2 separate regions of the Homo sapiens genome follow, and region 1 is linked to region 2. The links are contacts of gene promoters, found by promoter capture Hi-C in human tissues and cell types (Jung and others, 2019). All regions are on one chromosome and are shown on one strand. The core of a region is centred on a gene start or on the middle of the fragment in contact, and the rest is flanking DNA. Distances in the headings are between cores, read along the strand shown. Region 1 overlaps EIF2B3 (eukaryotic translation initiation factor 2B subunit gamma). Region 2 holds the start of BEST4 (bestrophin 4).

Evidence for each region. Contacts are between HindIII fragments. The study calls those that stand out against the background at their distance.
Region 1: a fragment that was not itself captured here is called in contact with the fragment with the promoter of BEST4 in region 2 in 2 of the 25 tissues and cell types used here (IMR-90 fibroblasts and liver).

What each region holds. Positions count from the first base shown.
Region 1 is chr1:44,909,262-44,914,744 of GRCh38, reverse strand. All of the region lies in intron 5 of EIF2B3 (eukaryotic translation initiation factor 2B subunit gamma), which reads left to right. Among named protein-coding and RNA genes, the nearest start is that of PTCH2, 69 kb to the right of the region's middle. The HindIII fragment of the contact is 5,381 bases long and covers 1,137-5,483 here.
Region 2 is chr1:44,786,395-44,792,314 of GRCh38, reverse strand. BEST4 (bestrophin 4) reads left to right here and starts at 4,145. Exons shown (of 9, transcript NM_153274.3): 1 at 4,145-4,761; 2 at 4,849-4,943; 3 at 5,619-5,852. The coding sequence starts at 4,610. RefSeq lists enhancers at 1-644, 4,917-5,602, 5,604-5,693, 5,603-5,920 and a silencer at 5,814-5,920. The HindIII fragment of the contact is 9,775 bases long and covers 873-5,920 here.

The DNA.
Region 1 (5,483 bases), core at 2,578-5,077, 120 kb before region 2:
TGCACTCCGGCCTGGGTGACAGAGCGAGACTCCGTCTCAAAAAAGGAAGGAAGGGAGGGAGGGAAGAAAGGAAGGAAGGAAGGAAGGAGAATTTTTTAAACTCTTAGTAATTCTCTAAAATCCTTGAATTCTGTAAAATAAGTACATCTTTTTTCATAAAATAAATGTGATGTTTCTTTTTTAAAAACAACATTTATGCTGAGATAGTAACAATTCTGGAATGTGGAAGTATTGATGATTATTATTTTTTTCTTTGTACTTTTCTGTATTTTAAAAAATTTTCTGGCTGGGCACAGTGGCTCACGCCTATAATCCCAACACTTTGAGAGGCCGAGGTGGACGGATCACCTGAGGTAAGGAATTTGAGACCAGCCTGGCTAACACAGTGAAACCCATTTCTACTAAAAATACAAAAAATTACCCAGGCATGGTGGCGCACACCTGTAATCCCAGCTACTTGGGAGGCTGAGGCAGGAGAATCACTTGAACCTGGGAGGCGGAGGTTGCAGTGAGCCAAGATCACGCCATTGCATTCCAGCTTGGGCAACAAGAGTGGAACTCTGCCTCAAAAAAAAAAAAAAAAATTCCCAATTTAAAAAGTTTTAAAAGCAAGTAAGGCTGGGTGCGGTGGCTCACACCACTAATGTCCACTTTGAGAGACCAAGGCAAGAGAATAACTTGAGGCCAGGAGTTTGAGACCAGCCTGGGCAACATCCTGAGACTACATCTCTACAAAAAGTTTTTGAAAAAATTACCTGGGCATGTTGACGCGTGCCTGTAGTCCCAGCTACTTGGGAGGCTGAGGCTGCAGAATCACTTGAACCCGGGAGGCGGAGGTTGCAGTGAGCCGAGATTGTGCCATTGCACTCCAGCTTGGACAACAAGAGTGAAACTCCATCTAAAAAAAAAAAAATTCCCAATTTAAAAAGTTTTAAAAGCAAGTAAGGCTGGGTGCGGTGGCTCACACCTCTAATGTCCACTTTGGGAGACAGAGGCAAGAGGATCACTTGAGGCCAGGAGTTTGAGACCAGCCTGGGCAACATCCTGTGACCCCCATCTCAGTTTTTGAAGAAATACCTGGGCATGGTGACGCGTGCCTGTAGTCCCAGCTACTTGGGAGGCGGAGACGGGAAGATCCCTTGCACTCAGGAGTTTGAGGCTACAGTGAACTTTTTTCATGCCACTGAACTCTAGCCTGGGTGACAGAGTGAGACCCTATCTGTACAAGATTTTTTTTTTTTTTCCATTAAAACAGGCAACAGGGCCATCTAACTGGCAGGCTGTAGTTTGCTGACCCCACTCGGATTCTTTTTTTTCTCCATAAAGAATATCTGTGACAGAGCCTTGTGAGCACAGCTTGTTTCTTACAGTGGTCAGGATATAGCTGACTAGCTCTGGAATTCTGCGAAGAAAGAAGTAAGGGTTTTGTTTTGGATTTTTTTTTCCTAAATCCATTTATCAAAATAAAAACGTAGGAAGCAGAGGGAGTTTTTTTGTATTTCAGAAAAGCTCGCCACAAGATGCAATTAAACAATATCTCTTAATGTATTAAAAAATATGATCTTATTTGTAGCTATTAGGTTGGTGCAAAAGTAGTTGCGGTTTTTGCCTTTTTTTTTTTTTTTTTTTTTTTTTAACAAAAACCGCAATTGCTTTTGCACCAATGTAATATTTCTAGAATTACGAACTGCCACAGCTGGAAGGTCATTTAGTTAGTCTAGTCTTCTATATTTCAGGCAATGATTCTGAAAGCAAGGAAGAAGGGGTTTTGTTCAATGTATCTAGTTAGGGACAGAACTAGTCCTTATTCATGAGGACATTCTACTTTCAGGAACACATCCTTCAAATCTGGTCAAACCACTGTTTTGGTATTTAAGGCAGAAGACTTTTTCCTTGAGGCAGGGGACTTTATCTCAAATAGCTCATCAGCCTTGGTGGAAGATTCAATTATGCATGGAAAAGGTTAACAAACAATAGCAAGGGATATCAGATACTGAACAGTTATGTCCAACAGACAGTGTTCTAAGAATTCAAAGGAGGTATCTAATCCTAGGCGCTGAGGTGGTCAGGGAAACAGAATAGAATAATTCAGACTTGAAGGATTGATTTGGTCCGGATATGGAAAGGGACATGGGAAGCCAGCTGAATCCTATATGCCGAGAATGCCACGAGCAAAGGTGGGGAAGGACAGTTTGACCTGAATGGAAGGTTCATGTTGGGAAACTTGAGGAGATAAGGCTGAGATGTTAAGTTGGTCTAAAAATAGAGAGCCTTGAATACCAGGGAATTATTAAAAACTTTTGAGGAAGGAAATGATTATTCAAATATAGGATTCTGAAAAAAAATAATCTGACAGAAGTATGTAGGATAGATTTAAGGTATATAAGACTTGAAAAGTATCACAGTGTTGGATTGCTAAATTCAAGACTCTCAAGGAATTCTGTCCTTTGGAATACAGAAAGGAAAACTAATTGTGATTAGCAATTATTATGTGAAATGAGGGTCCTGACTCACATGCATCCATCAAGCACTGATGTTTATGCTTTGTTCTGTATTAGAGATAGCAGCCCTAGACATTAAGTTCTTAAAAGCACTATTCACAATAGCAAAGACTTGGAACCAACCCAAATGTCCAACAATGATAGACTGGATTAAGAAAATGTGGCACATATACACCATGGAATACTATGCAGCCATAAAAAATGATGAGTTCATGTCCTTTGTAGGGACATGGATGAAATTGGAAATCATCATTCTCAGTAAACTATCGCAAGAACAAAAAACCAAACACCGCATGTTCTCACTCATAGGTGGGAATTGAACAATGAGAACACATGGACACAGGAAGGGGAACATCACACTCTGGGGACTGTTGTGGGTTGGGGGAGGGGGGAGGGATAGCATTGGGAGATATACCTAATGCTAGATGACGAGTTAGTGGGTGCAGCGCACCAGCATGGCACATGTATACATATGTAACTAACCTGCACATTGTGCACATGTACCCTAAAACTTAAAGTATAATAAAAAAACAAAACAAAACAAAACAAACAAACAAAAAAGCAAGACTCATACGTTTCTCTGGTTACAACTAAAGGGTGGGTGGAGGTTGTTTTCTGTTTTCTTTTTAACCTCTGTGGGAACTAGTTTATGGCTCCATACAATGGAGTGTTAGTAACTGCCTTAATTGTAATTACATTTGACAATGAGAGCAAGGCTTGGGCATGATGGGAGCAAAGAAGATGGACCTAGTCAGAGGTGAGGTGATAATGAAGAGCAGGTGGATGTGTCTTTTTCCTTCATAGATGTCAAGCTCAGGGCCTTGACTAAGCACTGGGGTCATTGAGAGCAGATCTTCTATCAGTTTCCTAAGACTAGGCTGCATTTTTAGTTGTTGGCAGATTTTTTTCCTTGTTCTTCTGATTTATAATCCACACCCCAGTGATTCAGGATCTTTGGTGTGTAGTTATAAAAGGGTTGCAGGCTGGATAAATATGCATAAAAATATTCTCTCATTCCTATGACCCTCTGGGGTGTTGTGCTCCTCCTGCCTCAAGTGAGATGCTGGTTAAAAGCTAATTAGATTCAGATTTTCAAGCACTTTCTGATTATGAGAATACAGTACTTCCTTCTGTTTTTATCTTTTTTAAAACGCTGAATTTCCAAAGATGGAGGTTAGCTCCTAGTGAGCAAACACCAGTTATCTTGGATACGGCCTTCATGTATATAGGAAAATCAGAAACTTCTTGTAAAGTTTTTTTAACTTTTGTAAATTGGGTTCAGTCTATACTGCTCAGGAGATGGGTGCGCCAAAATCTCAGATTACCACTGAAGAACTTACTCATGTAACCAAATACCACCTGTTCCCCCAAAACCTATGGAAAAAAAATTTAAAAAAGAAAGAGAGAGAGAAAAGGACAATGACAGAATGTACATCCCATCAGTTTTCTCTTTCTGAGAGAGAGGCTGGGTGTGGTGGCTCACACCTGTAATCCCAGCACTTTAGGAGGCTGAGGTGGAAGGATTGCTTGAGCCCAGAAGTTTCAGACCAGCCTGGGCAACATAGCAAGACCCATTTCTCTCTTTTAAAAAAAAAAAAAAAAAAAAAAAAAAGCATTACTTGGGGGGGTGGGGAGGGATAAAATGTTTGCTTGATTTCAAAGACACCTGTTAGAATATGGTCAGGTGCAGAGGCAGCCTCCCCAGCAAGCTAGTCATCAGTCAGTACTAGTAACTTTACCTCAAAGGGCCCAGATTCTTATGACCTTGTTGGATTTAAACAAAGCACAACACCTTTCCTACATGTCTGATTGTTGCATTTCTGACTTGGAGAGGCATTACATGTAGTAGGAAAGAATGTTCTGGTAGAAGGAGCTTGTTACTGAAAATTCAGGTTCAGAGAATTTGCAGTCTAGTCTGGAGACAAACCAGCTGTGTGACCTTGAGCAAATAACTTTATTTTTCTAAGCCTCAGTTTCCCCCAGCTGAAATTGGCTTAGTTGGTCTTTAAAGAAACCCCCCTCCAGCTCTAAAATTCCTGCTTTATTTCTGACAGACATATGTTTTTAATAGTTCATAAGTAAAAGATATTTGTGCCAAATATTTAATAAGAAAATCATGTAGCTTTTCCCCAATGTTACATTGTTTTCTTTTGAATAGTTGTCAAGCTTTTTTACTGGAAGAGTAATGAAAATATTAAAACAAGCTCCTAAAGGATATCTTTAAAATGGAATAAAATGTTCACAAGGTCATCTTGGAAGGTTTAGACATCTATATCTGGGGAGTCAAGGACTTCAGTCAAGACCTCAAAGATCATGGCCAGATCTGTATTTCTGGGACTACAGATGATGAGAAATGGTTTAAACCCTTGATTATTTTCCCAATGGTGTGGGAGTCTTGAAATACTATTTATGTAAGTTAGTACCTCTGCTGCTCCTAACCAGCCCTAATTCCCAAAATACCTCTCTTAATTTGCAGTTTGGGATGGGGGCAGGTACAGAAGGGAAGAAGGGCTTGTGGAAGTTAGGATCACAAACCTTTCCCAAGGTATCTTGTCCAGTGTATTCTTACTCTTTTGTACTTTTAATTTACTTCTATAAAATGATATGGCTGTAAGATAACCCATGTCAATATCTTTAAGTCTTTGCTTTGGAGCTGGCCATATAGACTTCAGAGAAAAATCTTCCAATCTCCTGCCTGGGTGGGTAAAAGCTGTGCTGCCAATTCCTGATCATTTCAGGGCTCCTGAGATACAAATCAAGCTGCTTCTTAGCTTTCCTTATAGATGGTTTAGGATTCACCTTTCTTGGATATGCTAAATCTGTTACCACCACCATCCTTTTGTTTTCCAGCTTCCAAAATTTTGTTGTCATCTCTTCTTGTGGTCTTTGTCCTTGTGGGTTTATGTCTTTAAAAAAAAAAAAAATCTGTACTGACACTTCAGTGAGTTTTCAGAAAGAGGATGGGTTAACGCTTATGTTTAA
Region 2 (5,920 bases), core at 2,896-5,395:
GCTGGGATTACTGGCTCCTGCCACCAAGCCCGGCTAATTTTTGTATTTTTAGTAGTGACAGGATTTTGCCATGTTGGTCAGGCTGGTCTCGAACTCCTGACCTCAAGTGCAATGGCATGATCTCGGCTCACCGCAATCTCCACCTCCCAGGTTCAAGCGATTCTTCTGTCTCAGCCTCCGGAGTAGCTGGGATTACAGGCATGTGCCACCATGCTCAGCTAATTTTGTATTTTTAGTAGAGATGGGGTTTCTCCATGTTTGTCAGGCTGATCTCGAACTCCCGACCTCAGGTGATCCGCCTGCCTCGGCCTCCCAAAGTGCTGGGATTACAGGCGTGAGCTACCGCACCCGGCCTCTCATGGGGAATTTAAAAGGTTCAATGGCTTTCCCAAAGTCACAAAGCTTGGTGACTTTGGTGACCATGGTGAAGCATGGACTTGGGAACCTGGGCAGTGTGGCTCCGGAATCCATTTCACTGCCAAGCCATATAACCACTTCTCAGCTGTGAGGAGGGGACAGGGGAATGGGTGGGCAGGACCAATAGGGAGGGAGAGGAGAGCTGGAGGATAAGGAAAGGTGGGGCAGGTGATTTATGGGCTGAGTGGTTCCCTCTCCTGCACCATAAACAAAGGGACTGGTCAACAGCTGAGAAGGAGATAAGGTGATTCAGGAGGTAGGGACTGGGTGGGCCTGGGGACCGCCCTCTTCCTCTGGCAGAGGCTTCAGGTCACGTACTTTTATCCCGGGCTCTGTGGGAAATTCACAGACCACAGGGCTGGGAACAAGCAGAGGTGTGAGGGCCACAGGTGCGGGTGGCGGTGCAGGATTGAAATGCAGCCAGCTGGTCTTCCTGGGGTAGAGCTGTCAGGGAGACACGGCCTGAGCTCCTGCACTCCCAGGACCTGGCTTTCCAAGTCCTAGAACATCTTTAAGTGGTAAGCAGCCCAGATGCTCTAGGAAAGCCACAGATCAGAGCATGAGAATGAACTGCCTGGCCATGATGCCTGAGGCCCAGGAGCTGGCATCTCACCCTCCCCAGGTCAGGTCCTGGACACACACAGACACACACACACACACACACATACTCTCTCTCTCTCTCTCTCTCTCTCTGAGTCCTGTTCTTTCCTCATATTGACATCTCCCATGGAGAATGTAACGCCAGTCAGGCCATGAGTAGTTTTCCAGATCTTGGCTCATCTGGGAAATCTCACAAAATAGCAGGGGTGGGGTGGGGGACCAGATGTCTTTCATCTTAAAAGGGAAGAGAGAAATGGAGAACAAAAGAGGGGGTGGAGGGAGGCAAGAAGGAGGGAAGGATGAGAAGAAAGAAAGAAAAAGAAGCTTGCTTGGTTTCAAGTCCTCCCCAGCTTTTTCTTTTTCTTTTTTTGTTTTTGTTTTTGTTTTGAGACAGGGTCTCACTCTGTCACCCAAGCTGGAGTGCAATGGCTGTATCATGGCTCACTGCAGCCTCAAACTCCTGGGCTCAAGTGATCCTCCCACCTCAGCCTCCCAAGTACCTGGACTATAGGCACACACCACCACACCCAGCTAATTTAAAAAAATTTTTTGTAGAGACAGGTCTCACTATGTCGCCCAGGCTGGTCTCAAACTCCTGGGCTTAAGTGATCCTCCCACCTCAGCCTCCCAAAGTGTCAGGATTACAGGCATGAGCCACTGTAATCTAGCTTTACCTAGATGAATCAGATTCAAAACTGTTCTCAGGTGTCTCACAGGCTAGAGGGGAGATCTCCCTGTAAACAGATCATAGACCACTGTGATTAACTGCTGCAAGAGAGAAAACCCAGAGGGTTTTGAGGAGTAACCTGGGGAAGATCATGGAAGGCTTCCTAGAGGGTGCTCTGAGCCACATCTTGAAGGAACAGTTACAAATGAGCTAGGCATATACACCTACTATGCACTCACAAAAATTAAAATTAAAAAAAAATTTTATATGAGCTAGGCAGAGACTGGTGATGAGGGTAGAGGTGGGTAAGTCTCAGAGGGCCTTGTGTATTCAGCTTAAAAGCCAGGATCCAGCACTGTTTGGTCTGGGGCAGGTTAGCAGGACATGAAGAAAAGGTCTCTGCCTCCTCATTTCTCAGGGACTGTCTGGCTTGGAAGGCTTGGTAGGCAAGACTGGACCAGTCGTGGGAAACCAAAGAGAACAGATTCAAATTTTCATAGTAACAGCAGCCCAAGCCAACCACCCACAGTGCTTTAGGCCATAGGCATTGTTTCTGTGAATACTCAAAATTGCCCCATGAGGTTAGGCGTTCTTGATTCTGATTTGCAGAGGAGGAAACTGAGGTTCAGAGAGATTAGGTAACTTGCACAGTTACAAAGAGCTGGGGTTCAGACCCAGGTTTGTCCAATTCCCAAGCCTGTGCTCCTAATCACCTCTCTATGCTTCCTATCTTTAGGAAACTTGCAGAAGAGAACCAGCTCACAGTGTAGGGGGAGGAGCTTCCCAAAACAAGACAGAGGCAGGACCACCACTCTTGGGATTTTTCAGTGTTCACTTACCTCAGCACTGGGAGGGTAAGTAAGCTGCCAATTCTCTTCCACTTTGAGGTTCTATTTCTTTTCTTTTCTTTTTTCTTTTTCTTTTTCTTTTTTGAGACAAAGTTTTGCTCTTGTTGTCCAGGCTGGAGTGCAATGGCATGATCTCGGCTCACCGCAATCTCCACCTCCCAGGTTCAAGCGATTCTTCTGTCTCAGCCTCCGGAGTAGCTGGGATTACAGGCATGTGCCACCATGCTCAGCTAATTTTGTATTTTTAGTAGAGATGGGGTTTCTCCATGTTGGTCAGGCTGATCTCGAACTCCCGACCTCAGGTGATCCGCCTGCCTCGGCCTCCCAAAGTGCTGGGATTACAGGCGTGAGTCACAGTGCCTGGCCTTTTTTTTTTTTTTTTTTTTTGAGACAGAGTCTCTGTCACCCAAGCTGAAGTGCAGTGGCACAATCTCAGCTCACTGCAACCTCTCCCTCCCGGGTTCAAGCGATTCTCCCATTGAGATTCTATTTCTTTTTCTTTTTCTTTTTCTTTCTTTCTTTTCTTTTTTTTTTTTTTTTGATTACCCAGGCTAGAGTGCAGTGGCACGATCTCAACTCGTTGCAACCTGCGCCTCCCCAGGTTCAAGCAATTCTCCTGCCTCAGCCTCCCATGTACCTGCTGGGATTACAAGTTCGTGCCACCACACCCGGCTAATTTTTGTATTTTTAGTAGAGACAGGGTTTCACCATGTTGGGCCAGGCTAGTCTCGAACTCCTGACCTCAAGTGATCCACCTGCGTTGAGGCTGCCCAAAGTGCTAGGATTACAGGTGTGAGCCACCTTGCCTGGCAGCGGAAGTTCTATTTCTATCAGCGCCTTAGGTATTACTTCCTCCAGAGGTGAAAGTGGCCACTCAAATCTTGGGCACCCCTAGGAGTCAGGATGTTGGACACAGGGCTTAACGGAGCCTGCACTCCTAGGCCTGAGCTTCCAGATCTGTGGCTGTCAGCCCCGTGGCATGGATGGAGAAGAGCCTGGCCAAGCCCCCAAGCCCCTGTACAAGAAGACTGGGAGTGTGGCCAGTGCACAGGATGGGTCCTGGAGCTCATGCCTTTGCTAGGCCACTTCCAGCCTTGGAAGTCCATCAGCCCTGGCTTTGAATCCTGCCTCCAACATGTTCTAGCTGTATGGCCGACGGCGGGCAAGTCATTTACCTCTTGGAGCCTCATCTGTGAAATGTGGATGATTGATTCCCTACCTCATGGTGCTGTGATGAGGATTTCTTGAGAGGATGACCTAGTAGTGCCCTTGGCATGGTTCCTGTCACTTAGTCAGTGCTCTGTGATCAGCAGCTGGTATTATTATAACAGTTTATCATGCATCTGTCTTCCCACCTGAAACGTGGGACAATAACCCCTGTCATACTGGCTTGAAGGACATGGTGTCGTCTGTGTGAGCTGTGGGGTCAGTATAGCTGGCATTTCTGCCACTCGAAGGCCAGCCCAACCCTACAGGGGTAAGGAGACACACCCAGTTCCCAGCACCAGGGGAAGCTGGATGACAGCTTCAATCCATCAATGATAGGCCTCAGTCCAGCCTAACTTTATGGACTGCAGAGGTACTTAAGTCTGTGGGGGTTGAAGTCTAGCCCAGTTCATCTTCCACACGGGCTGCTGCCCAGAGCAGGTAGGCAGGTATGGGATGGGGGTGAGAGTGCCCTGGGCCCTGGTAGTTCTAGTTAATCAGCTTCCAAAGCAAGGCCCCAAGGAATAGCAGTGGATTTGGGCTGGAGCTGCGTCTCTTGTCCGCAGCAGTTCAGGATCTGGTTATCCCTAGCCCTGCAGGCTGAAGAGGAGCTTGAGGAAACCTCATGCATGAAGGGACACAGATCTCAGTTCTACCTTGTCCAACTCTAGCCTGGCTTTGCCCATGTACTGCTCAGTTCTGCAGGGGGTGGGGTGTACTTTTCTGCTCTGCAGGCTCCTACCCCCTTGTCCACTGACGCAGGGTGAAGGCTGGGGTGTGTGAGACCAGAGTGGAAGGGAGGTTGTCTGGAGAACTAAACGACAGCCCTGGGGGCAACTCTTGTGACCTCCTGCCCCAGGCTCCCAGCACCATGACGGTTTCATACACTCTCAAAGTGGCGGAGGCCCGCTTCGGAGGTTTCTCTGGCCTGCTTCTCCGCTGGAGGGGAAGCATCTACAAGCTCCTCTACAAGGAATTCCTCCTCTTTGGGGCCTTGTACGCTGTGCTTAGCATCACCTACCGGTAAGGGCAGGGTCTTAGAGCTGGCGCAAGTGGGGAGACTGGGCCACCCACCTCCCTCTAACCCAAGCCTACACCTGCCTTCCCCAGGCTGCTGCTGACCCAGGAGCAGAGGTACGTGTATGCTCAGGTGGCCCGGTACTGCAACCGCTCAGCAGACCTCATTCCCTTGTCCTTTGTATTGGGTAAGGCTCCCTTCTAGTTTTCCCTGTGTCCCCCTTACTGTGTTCCCTGACCTCTGGGTTGGGTTGACAGCTCCGAGGGTCAGAATTACCCAACAGATGGTGTGGTGACACACCTGCAGTCTCAGCTACTCGAGAGGCTGAGGTGAGAGGATCGCTTGAGCCCAGGAGTTCCAGTCCAGCCTGGGCAATGTAGCGAGACTCTGCTAAAAAAAAAAAAAAAAAAAAAAAGAATTACTCAACACGGTGGCAGAGCCTTCCTGGTCAGCCAGAGCAGGCCCAGCAGGCACAGGAGCTGGGTGCTGGGTCCAGGACTTCCAGAGGGCAGGGCCCTATCACTTGCCGGACCCTCACTTCCAGCAAGGCACAAGACACCTGCTGGCCTCACAAGCCCACCCTGGGCACTGCAGGGGAGCTGGACAGAGGTGACAACCCCTTCCCCACCCTCCTGGGAAGCAGTCTCCTGGCTTTGAATCCCCACTTTCCCTCTGCTGAAGGAAGTTTGCCCTCCTCCCTCCTCCTGGCCTCGCACAGCAGGGCACTGGAGCTGAATGTTTCCTTCCCCCTGCCACGATTCAACTGGCCTGGACCAGGCCCTTTGCTGGGGGAGGTGAGGCGCTCCGACCCCCAGGCTCTCCACTCTCCCTTCCTACTCCCTCTATCACGGCGGCCAAGCAGGTTTCTATGTGACTCTCGTGGTGAACCGCTGGTGGTCCCAGTACACAAGCATCCCGCTGCCAGACCAGCTGATGTGCGTCATCTCGGCTAGCGTGCACGGCGTGGACCAGCGGGGCCGCCTGCTGCGCCGCACCCTCATCCGCTACGCGAACCTGGCGTCCGTGCTGGTGCTGCGCTCGGTCAGCACCCGCGTGCTTAAGCGCTTCCCCACCATGGAGCACGTGGTGGACGCAGGTGCGCCGCCCGCCGGGAGCCTCTGGGGGTCCGGCCCACAGCCGGATGCAGGTGGCGCCTGGGAGAGT